2 separate regions of the Homo sapiens genome follow, and region 1 is linked to region 2. The links are contacts of gene promoters, found by promoter capture Hi-C in human tissues and cell types (Jung and others, 2019). All regions are on one chromosome and are shown on one strand. The core of a region is centred on a gene start or on the middle of the fragment in contact, and the rest is flanking DNA. Distances in the headings are between cores, read along the strand shown.

Region 1 (5,792 bases), core at 2,851-5,350, 1.5 Mb after region 2:
ACATGACTAGAGAAGGGTAGAACCTATTCCCACAGTATATTTCTATTTCCCTATATCAATAAGGGAAAGTAAGGCAAATAAAAGAAATTCTCTCAGTGGAATGTGAGGGAGTTAATAGTGGTTAACTGGCCGGGCGCAGTGGCTCACGTCTGTAATCCCAGCACTTTGGGAGGCTGAGGCGGGCGGATCACCTGAGGTCAGAAGTTTGGGACCAGCCTGACCAACATGGTGAAACCCTGTCTCTACTAAAAATACAAAATTAGCCGGGCATGGTGGCGCATGCCTATAATCCCAGCTACTCGGGAGGCTGAGGCAGGAGAATTGCTTGAACCCAGGAGGCGGAGGTTGCGGTAAGCCGAGATAGCGCCATTGCACTCCAGCTTAGACAACAAGAGCAAAACTCCGTCTCAAATAATAATAATAATAATGGTTAACTTTCTTTTCTACCCCACATAAGTTGTTCAATACTTTAATACATCAACAAGATCCCACAAGGTAGCAGATCTCATAATAAAAAGAGTGCTGAGGCATCCAAACCGATTTAAGAGATGGTGAGCAATGGGCTTATTGATGACAACGCCTCCTTCCTGTTTCAGAATTTCCTCTAGAGACCTCAAGCAGTTCACAACTACAATTGGATCCTGGTCACGCAGCAAACTGTATAATTCATTTACCAGGGCACCATCTATAAAAAAGAACAAAGTTCTTAGATAAAGAAGGAAAGCTTCAGAGTAACAAGGATGTAGCCAGAGTAATAGCTCCAGGTAGACAAAGTTGAACTTCTCTGCTACAAAAATGACAAAGGCCACACTAAAGTGCAAGGCAAAAAAAAAACTGCCATGTCCAGACTGTTCTAAGCAGCTAATACAAAGGATCTCATTGGGGCCCCAGAGAAAGGACTTCTCATCTCCAGAAGATACCAAGCCCTGCATCCTACTTAAAGAGATATGTACAGAACTGGGGCCACATTATTATTTTCTACCAAAGCCACACAATCTTTTTTAAAGTTATACATAATGGAGGCACATTGACCATGATGGATTACACTGAACTTACCTACTTCAGAGTCTCCATGAAGATTATGCATCTTGGCACATCCAAGGACTGCCACTCTCCTGACATATGAAGCCTTATCCCGCAGACCATTGAGAATAGGCTGTTGTATATACTCCTGCACACCAGGCATCCTAAGCAACACATCCTGGAGTTAGCCAGATTCTGAAATACTAATTTTGACATACCTCAGCCCCTGTTCACCTAACAGATGGTTTAGTAGATGCTGCACCCATCAGATCATGAAGAATTGCAGAAAGCCTCTATCAAGCTTAAAAAGCCATAATTTGACTTTTCTGTTTTTTTCTTGTTTTTTTCAAGATGGGGTCTCACTTTGTCACCCAGTGGCCCGATCATAGCTCACTGCTGCCTTGAATTCCCGGGCCCAAGCCATCCTCCTGCCTCAGCCTTCCTAGTAGCTGAGACTACAGGTGCGTGTCACCATGCCCATTTAATTTTTTGTAGATATAGGCTCTCACCATCTTGCCCAGCTGGTCTCAAATTCCTGGGCTCAAGCAATCTTCCTGTCTAAGCCTCCCAAAGTGCTGGGTCTACAGGCATGAGCCACTGTGCCCAGCCTAATTTGACTTTTCATTTGGAATAATGATGCACAGGCAGCAAAAAAAGATATACACATAATTGTTTAGAGATATTTAACCAAAACTGAGGACTATTTTACTTAGAGTGAGAATCAAAAACTCCCTCTAATAAAATTATATGATACAGGTTATTAAGCCAAAGCAGTGGCTGAAAATCTGAGTTCAGGGTACAATAATGTTTTCCCCAGTATTAAGGAGCTCAAATAAATTATCCTCTTTAAAAACCTACCCTGTGATCACTTGAATTCATCAGCCATTTAGGACCAGACAGAGAAGAGGGTACTCACCTGAGGCTACACATGCTCCGTAACGCCAGCCCTCGCACCATTGGATTGGGGTCTGAGCAGTCTTTGCACAGCGTATTGATGGCCAGGAGAGCCAGATCTGGTTTCAGGGGAGCATATGTGCACATGTACAGATAAACCAACTTCTTCTGGACAATATCTACAGTGGCACTGGCCTTCACCATTTCCATAAAAACACCAGACATGTCCAAGCCTTGAGTCATGTACCTGAACAACGCACATGACAGAAGGAAGTAAAATGCAAAATCCCCAACTTACAATGGAGGGAGTTTTACTTACATATCTCCTGATTACCCAACTAGATTGTGATCTCTTAGAGGGTAGCAGCCAGGATTACCTTGTCTATTATATCACACAGTACTTCATACCATAGGCCTACAATAAACATTATTCTTCTATTCATTCAACAAACACTTATTATTATTTTTGAGACAGAGTCTTGCTCTGTTACCCAGGCTAGAGTGCAGTGGCACAATCTCGGCTCATTATAAGCTCCGCTTCCCAGGTTCAAGCGATTCTCCTGCCTCAGCCTCCCGAGTAGCTGGGACTACAGGTGCGTGCCACCACGCCCAGCTAATTTTTGTATTTTTAGTAGAGACGGGGTTTCTCCATGTTGGCCAGGCTGGTCTCGAACTCCTGACTGCAGGTGATCCACCCGCCTTGGCCTCCCAAAGTGCTGGGATTACCAGCGTGAGCCACCGCACCCAGCCTCAACAAACACTTATTGAATCCCTAGTACTTTGGTGAAATTCAACTTTTACATCCAGGGACATGCTCTTGGGACATAATCTTGAAGAAGGTGTGGTCTCAAACCTCTAGGAACTTCAAATCTATTAATGAGCCAGATGAGAATACCGTTAATTACAGTATGATAGATAAGTACTTAAACAGAAGTATTGTACAAGGTGTAGAGGGGATTCAGAGGTCTGACACTGGCAGGAAGTCAGAAAATGTTTCTTCACAGAGGAAGTAATACTTTAGCTGAATGAGCAGGAGCTCACTAGGCAGATGTAATAGCAAGGTAAAGATACATGCTATGAGGTAAGTAGACATGAGCAGGAGCAGCACACATTTTTTTAAGAGTCTGTAGGTAGTTGAATTAACAGCTTGTTCCTTGGGTGCTGTGATAAGTTTGGACTTTATTGTTTCTCAGACTGGTCTCCTACTGGAACCAACTGAAATGTTTATTAAAAATACAGATTCCTGGGTTCCCTCCCACCCTACTGAAATCAGAATCAGTCCCTGGACTGGATGACAAAAAGCACCCCAAGGGATTTTTATGCATAGTAAAGTTTGTGAACCATAGCTGTAGGCAAGAGTTATGTGTTCAGGTATGTATAATGGAAAAATTCTGTCTCAAATGAGGCAAAGTGGCCTACTAGTAAGCTGCTGCAATTGCTTTATTGATGAAGGCCTGGACCAGAACAACAATGCTAATAAACAAGAGAGGATGGATATTTAGAATTATGAATTCAAACCATCTGACATAAGAAGTGAGAGATCAGGTGTCCTCAAGGTTGGCTCCCACGCATAGTCGGCTGCTGGTGGCATTCATCAACACAAATGTAAGCTGAACAGGTTTGAGGAAGACGGAAGAATGTCCGGGCTATTTCGGACATACTTTTGATAAACCACGCACGTGGAAATGCCAAGCAGGCAGTGGGATACGTGGGTCTGAAGCTAAAAAAGGAAGTCTGTACTAGCTATATTATAGATCCAAGAGTCACCAGTAATTGCTCAAGCCCGTGATATGGAGGAAACTACCCAGCTGAGTAAAAGATGCTGCAGAGGGGAGACTGACATGGTACTCCAAAGCAGCAGGACGAAGACCGAACCATATAACTGCCACGTGTGAAAGCTAATTCACCCTTTCAGAGAGACTGGGGCTAGTGAGCCCTGATGGGGATTGCAAAGGGAGCAGTTAGCACGCGAAGGGAGGTAGGTGATACCTAATCACTCGCTGGATGACATTCCGGTAGCGCAGCCTATCAGCTTGAATGTGAGGATTGCACAGAGCCTTCTTCAGCTCCTTCACCACGTCCTCGGAGCCAAGGTACGGCATCTTCCTAAGAGTCACAGGGCAGCTCCCACAGCTCCCACGGTAACTCGAGGGCTCCTTCTCGTCCTGATGTGGGAGCCTGAGTAAAGGAAATATGAGTCAGTGAAAATACAAAAGGCGAGATCTCGCCTCAGGCTCGGCTTCCGTAGGGCCGGCACGCTGGCCCTGACACACTTCCACGCCCTCCGCGACACCGCGAGCCCCACCCTAGGCTCTTCAGGCCCTACCGTCGGCCGGCAGGCCGTTCGCCCCGCCCACAGATCGCTCCCGCTACTTCTAGGTCCTCCGCCGGATTTCCAGCGCCGCGTCCGACTGACCGCAGACCCCTCCCTCTCCAGTTCCAGCCTTAATTCCCCCTCCACGCCGTTCTCATCGCGGATAGGCCCAATCTTGCTTTCTGCGGAAGTCCCGCCCCCTTGTCAAGAGACCAAACAGAAGACCGCTGCCGGTCTCCCCGCGAGCGAGCGCTAAGCGTAGTCCCGACTCCGACCTTAGGATGCCCTTCCCCCAACCTCTCACTCTCCAGGCGCAGCTGCGCGGCTCCCTCTGGTGGAGCTGCGGCGGGCAATCGGAAATCGGCTACTTTGGCCTGTCTCCTCCCTGCAGCGCGCGCTTTGAGTGCCCGGCTCGGCCTCCGCTCCCGCGCGGTTGGGAGTGTCCAGCGCCCTCCGCGATTTGGGCTCCAGCGGGCAGGGTGACTTCCTTTTTCTGCCCACTCTGGTAACTTATTGCTCTGCTGGGCTCTTTCCCTTAGGGTCTCTGGCCCTGTTCTTGCCCCAGCATGACTTTTATCGGGACGCCGTTGTGGAAGCCTCACGCAGGAGCCCTGCCCCCGTGGAGAAGATCCCACTGGTGACTCCAACCCTACCACCATGAATGGGGTCCTGATCCCCCATACGCCCATCGCAGTGGACTTCTGGAGCCTGCGCCGGGCTGGCACCGCACGTCTCTTCTTCTTGTCTCACATGCACTCGGACCACACCGTGGGCCTGTCTAGCACCTGGGCCCGGCCCCTCTACTGCTCCCCAATTACAGCCCACCTCTTGCATCGTCACCTACAGGTATGGGGCTGGAGTCGGTCTCCGAGAGCTGGTCCAGGCATCTGGGTTGGGACTTCAACCTGTCATTCTTGGAGTCATAGAATGGGGGCCACGAAAACTGATTTGGAAGTTGTTTGAACCCAAAAATGCATCTTTAACCCAGAATAGGAACGTGTTTTCGAAGTGACCAACTTGAGATAGTTAGCCATAAGTTGAGGAGATATTTTAATCCAGCCAAGGAAACTATTCCTACCTTTATAAGTAAGCTAGGCCGATGTTTCCCAAACTTGCCTTTTTTTTTTTTTTTTTTTTTTTTTTTTGAGACGGAGTCTCGCTCTGTTGCCCAGGCTGGAGTGCAGTGGCGCAATCTCGGCTCACTGCAGCCTCCGCCTCCCGGGTTCAAGCGATTCTCCTGTCTCGGCCTCCTGAGTAGCTGAGATTACAGGCGCACGCCACCACGCCCAGCTAATTTTTTGTATTTTTTGTGGAGACGGGGTTTCACCATGTTGGCCAGGCTGTTCTCTAACTCCTGACCTTAAGTGATCCGCCCGCCTCAGCCTCCCCAAGTGCTGGGATTACAAGCGTGAGCCACCACGCCCCGCCTAAACTTGCCTCATCTTAAGAATCCACCTAATGTGCTGGGTGGTTCTCCAGCTCTCTCCCCACCCCACCCTTAAGTCTCCAAGAGATTAAGATCAGGAGTAAGTTTGGGAATTGCTGACTAGACTGTTTGCTG
Region 2 (5,416 bases), core at 2,191-4,690:
AAGCCAGGGGAGAGAGGCATGGGATGGAGCATCTCTCAGAGCCCCCAGAAGGAGCCAACCTTGTCAACACCCTGATTTTTTTTTGTTTGTTTGTTTTTTTGAGACAGAGTTTCGCTCTTTGTTGCCCAGGGTGGAGTGCAGTGGCGCGATCTCGGCTCACTGCAACCTCCATCTCCTGGGTTCAAGCGATTCTCCTGCCTCAGTCTTCCAAGTAGCTGGGATTACAGGCACCCGCCACCATGCCCAGCTAATTTTTGTATTGTTAGTAGAGACGGGGTTTCACCATGTTGGCCAGGCTGGTCTAGAACTCCTGACCTCAGGTGATCCACCCACCTCAGCCTCCCAAAGTGCTAGGATTACAGGAGTGAGCCACTGCACTCGTCCAACACCCTGATTTTGTACTTCTAGCCTCAAGAACTGAGACAGAACACATTTCTGTTGTTTTAAGCTGCCCAGATAGAAACTACTATAGTTGATGACAGAATAAGAACTAGACTCCAGATTTTTTAACCTCTAGCCTAGACCTCTTTTACTCCATTGCTGCCTCCCCAAACCAGCAATAAACATTTATGGAAATTTACTTATTTGGAAAAAAATTGACACAATCTATAATTTTTAAGCACTTTAAGTTGTTGCCTGACACAATAGGCATTTAATAAATATTTTACTGTCCAGTTGATAAAATGATAGACATTAAAATGTTATATTTTGTTATACAAATCTAAGATATTGTTATGAACCATTTTTTACCTCTGCGTACACCTATGCACCAGACTCTAAATTTATTTACAAGGTTTATGTATTGAAGAATCACAAACCTCCATAACTCTCTCACTGCTACAATCTGAAAGATACACGAGGTTCACAAGCCCTGCCTGTTCCCTACTTCTAGGGGTGAAAAATTAAAAGGAAAGCAATCTGAACACCCTCAAGACTCTGAATCCTACAAGGCAGGGATGTTCTCATTTTTGCTGAGTCCTTCTACACTCATTTAGGAATACGCAGAAGGGAAGCCAGGAAATCAGGGGAGTTGCCCATTGCTCTAAAGGAAGTAGGTCACAGAGCACTGCTCCCACCCAGTCAGCCAGGGAAAAGAATGGGTGGTGGTGGGTTAACAGCTACAAAGGGAATGAGGGAAAGAAAGGAGGACCTGCCGGGCATGGTGGTTTACGCCTGTCATCCCAGCCACTTTGGGAGGCCAGCAGGTGGATCACCTGAGGTCAGGAGTTTGAGACCAGCCTGGCCAACATGGCAAAACCCCATCTCTACTAAAAATATAAAAATTAGCTGGGCACAGTGACAGGCGCCTATAATCCCAGCTACTCGGAAAGCTGAGGCAGGAGAATCGCTTGAACCCAGAAGGCGGAGGTTGTAGTGAGAGATTGCGCCATTGCACTCCAGTCTGGGAGACAGAGCGAGACTCCATCTCGATAAAAAAAAAAAAAAAAAAGAAAAGAAAAACAAGGGAGGAGCTGATTCACTAGAACAACTCTTAGAGTGACTCAGAAGCCAGCAGAAAATAGCTTGTTCTCCCACATCTGCTTCATTGTCAGGCGATGAGGCACTTCCTCATTGCATACACATAGGCAGAGCGAAAGGGAGGAGGAGGAAATGGGATTTTTCAAGTTCCTTTGCCTGCTCCAGCACCTAACACTCTGTATTTGTAATCATTTCAGACATTTTGTTTCAAGTCAATATTTATTGAGTACCTACTCTGTGCCTGGCCCCTCATTTTAGCTTTCAGATTGTCAGTTTTCAGAACACAAGGCATAATGCCTTTCTGAAGTTCAGTATACCCTGCATCATTACTCCAGATTCACTTACACTGCTATCGAGCACCTTCACTCATAGTCTTGCTATCCTTCATATACAGAGATGACCCTCCCAAGCCTAAAATCAACAGGGGGAGGCATAGAGCTGTCCTTCTGGCTCTAATGTTTGCTTTACCATCATCCACGCCCATTCTTAGTCCAGCATGTGAGAGCCAGTGTGAAGTGAGCAGAATATGGCATAAGTATGGAGTCATACATCCTTACTGGAAATTCTTTACCATTTACTAGCTCTATGACTTTATTTGACTTCTCTGAATCTCTATCTTCTCATCTGTAAATTGGACACAATGATGTCTATCCTACACTGTAGGATAGATTTCTCATACAGCACTGAAAATGACATCAAATACCATTAAATGAAAGTACATGGCACAGTGATAACATGATAAATACTTGTTTACTTCTTTCAGACTATAATCGCACAAACTGATCACATCCCTCAGTCAGACTGTAAACTGCATGAGGCAGGCTGCATCTGCCTTGGGGACTGTCTGCCTAGGCAAGCACTAGGTCCCTAATGCTGTCTTGCGAATTATAATTGCTAAGTTTAGGGATAATGTATTAAGTGTACTACATTATTTATGCATTATGAATATTCGTCTCAAATATTTATTATATTGTATTTTAAATAATGTGGTTATTGTAAATGTAACCAGCTGCATCAATCTGTGAGCTGACAGCCATTCTGTGGAAAAGGAATTCAGAAACTTTGACCTTAGGTAGGGATACAACTAGTTATACATCCACTCCCCTCTCTGAGTTATTTGGTCCTGCCTAAGACTTGCTGCCACCAAGATCTGCATTCCTGTGTTCACAAGGCAGACATTCCTTGCATCCTCTGTACTCTCCATTGTTTCAACTTCACTGCAAACACCATTCCCCACAATATAATGAGGCCAAGGAAAGAAAAAAGTCGCCTCAGCTGGCAAGCATAGGGTGGAAAAACCTGCCACACAAATTTGCAATTATTTGACTTCCGCCTGGAAGGCAGGTCGGCTGGGTTTATGTCCCCCAAAGTTAGTATCCTCTTCTGTACAAAATGTGGTTGAGAGAAGGGTGATCTCCAGGTGTTTCATCTTTGCACCCTTGCTTCCAGCACCACGCCCACAGGCGCTTCCAGAAAAAAGAAAAAAAAAAAGGGAGCAAGGAAGCCAGGTTTTTCAACAACGAATTCATTCTAATGCAGACACCAAAGCCCACTTCATTTATTAACATTCTGGATAAAATCCCAATCGATTAGGCCACCAGAGCCCTCCATTCCTAAACTCCGCGTACAGTCAGGTAAAAGCACGAAGCACTAGTCACGGTCCTGCCCAGACTTTTCACGCAGAGGTGGAAAGTTGCAGACCCCGAGCCGGGAGGGGCGCGAGCCCACCCTGAAGCCCAGGACCCAGGAGGGCGCTTCCTCCCGGAAGTGACGCGAGCTCAATCCCGGCCTTGCTCTTCCCAAACAAAAGGGATCTTGGGGCCCCGGGAGGAGCCTGAATGACTTTGGAGAAGCCCCGCCTCCAGCCGGCGCGGATTGGGGCCGAGGCTGGAGAAGCAAGGAGGCGATTGGCGCTGGTGAATGCCAATGCCCCCGCCGGGCGGCTGAGGGGGCGGAGCCTCAGCCGCTGTGGATGGGGAGTGGAGGCGGAGGGGAGCGGAGCCCGGAGCGTCGTGGAAAGGTAGGAGCAACTATCCCTGGGGCTTGGTGATGGCTGGGAGGCCGGGTTCTCAAGAGCAAAGCAAGGATAGGGGCACCGGTAGCCTCCCGCCGCCGTCTCAACGGCCTCTGGGCCCATCCCCTGAGGGGGCGGGGCCGTCTCCTCCACCTCCCGGTATTCCCCGAGGAGGCGGCTCCTCATCCTCCGAGGGTCCTCACAGCTACTTTTTGTCCCTCGTCGATTCCCAGCTCCTCAGAAGGGGCTTCCCTCTGACACCCCTCATTCAAAGGCACCTCCCACCCCGCACCTCAGCCTTGGCGGAGAGGACTCACAGGTACCGATTCTCTAGGCTGCCGCCCCCAACCCCATTTCGTACCCCCGGAAGGCCAAACATCCCTCCCTACACCTGTCCCTGCTCGCCAGGGTGGGACTGGAGCTGCTTTCCTCCGTAAGATAAAATTGGTGTTTCCCAAAAAGGAGGGATGGGGCGAAGCAAAAATCAAAGACCGACCTAGACAGCCAGCTTTACGGAGGAAGCGGCTTCTCCCACTTAAGTTCTTCCCATCCCCCATTCTCTGATGCTCAGTCTTCCTCCCGCAGCCCCTCGCATCCTCTGGCCTCTTGTGAGGAGTCGAGAGCTCTCCTGTTTTGGGACTGTTTTGGACTGTGAAAGAGGGAGAACTAGGACCTCCTCTCCTTCACCCTTTGTACCTTCCTTCTACTTTCTGTTCCTTCTGGGAGCACCCAGCCTCTAAGGGTTTCTTAGGTTTGAATTGCGTTTCATTTTTCCTTTTCCACCCTATTTCCTCCCTGAGAACTTGATGAAAAGCCATCTTATATTTCACAGTGAGGTGGGTGTGTTGGATATCTGCAGAGCTGGCTTTGTGTGGGCAGGAATGCAGTATATGTTGCTTGACAGTCAATGAATAACACCATGTTTTCAAATGAAACAGTATACATAAGTAAATAAGTAGCAGTGGATTAGGAATGAGTATATCCCAGTCTAGGGTGGGCTGGTCCATTGCTCAGGGAGACTGCAGTTAACCTTGAAGGTATACTGCAGGTTGAAACAAAAGACAGGAAGTGTTTGAAGAAAATTCAGGGTCAGTCATCTAGGTTTATGATTAATCTAGTCCTATGTCCTTTGGTAACTCTCTAACCCCTTTTTTATAGTGTCCTCCCCGCCCCCAGGAAACATTCATGTATATTTTGATTGGTTTTACGATCATCTATCAAAATTTAGAGGATGAAAAGTAAGAACAATTTTTAAATCTCAGAGATAAGAGTAAATAAAGGCAAGGTATTCTAGCTATTCATGTTTACCAAAAAGTGCCTCTTCTAGTGTGCTCCTAAAGGTTTTGTCAAGTGGTCTTCATTTCAGCAGGTGCAAAGTGTTGATTTTGACCTCATGTTAATGTCGTTGAATCCCCAGTAATCATCTATTGCTAGCGCTTTTATATATTAAAATTTACCATGTTTTTAGCATAGTTTCTTTTGCTTCCAATCTCAAGTCTACCTCCCCTCTGTCAGCTATAGCCAAAGCTGATGGCAATAAAATGCAAGGAGTTGGAATCACGGAGGGTGATTGTAATGACTGTTGTCTTTTACCTTCTTGATTAGACTTTCTGAAGGTAGACTTCCTAAAGATAATTACTTTTGAATAGTTAGGTTTGAAGTTTTCAGAGCCACTCGGTGCTCACAGGTCTTCTCAGTGATTGTTTCCAAATCTCCAGTAAGAAAGTACAAAGAAGAAACTGGAGGGTGTCTCTAGCAAACGCAATGTGTGCTGCAATAGAAGGGTAAGACGTGAGCTCCCAGCAATAACAGCAGAAAAAACTAAAAGCAGAACAGAAAATCCCAAAAAGATAAGTTGTATTATATCAACAGAGAACAGAAAATAAACTAAGGTAAGAGACTAAGCAAACCAAAGTTGTGATT

The links. The method cuts DNA at HindIII sites, captures the fragments that hold promoters and counts their contacts. A contact is called where the count stands out against the background at its distance.
Region 1: a contact is called between the fragment with the promoter of AP4B1 here and the fragment with the promoter of CTTNBP2NL in region 2, in 1 of the 25 tissues and cell types used here (stomach).

The regions. Positions count from the first base shown.
Region 1 is chr1:113,900,699-113,906,490 of GRCh38, forward strand. AP4B1 (adaptor related protein complex 4 subunit beta 1) reads right to left here and starts at 4,101. Exons shown (of 10, transcript NM_001253852.3): 1 at 3,907-4,101; 2 at 1,940-2,164; 3 at 1,057-1,187; 4 at 538-685. The coding sequence starts at 4,019. It overlaps DCLRE1B (DNA cross-link repair 1B), which reads left to right and starts at 4,628. Exons shown (of 4, transcript NM_022836.4): 1 at 4,628-5,077. The coding sequence starts at 4,889. It overlaps AP4B1-AS1 (AP4B1 antisense RNA 1), which reads left to right. Exons shown (of 5, transcript NR_125965.1): 5 at 1-539. RefSeq lists enhancers at 3,737-3,796, 3,877-4,436, 4,467-4,516. The HindIII fragment of the contact is 11,361 bases long and covers 1,025-5,792 here.
Region 2 is chr1:112,392,774-112,398,189 of GRCh38, forward strand. CTTNBP2NL (CTTNBP2 N-terminal like) reads left to right here and starts at 3,441. Exons shown (of 6, transcript NM_018704.3): 1 at 3,441-3,499. RefSeq lists a silencer at 3,639-3,688. The HindIII fragment of the contact is 13,857 bases long and covers 1-5,416 here.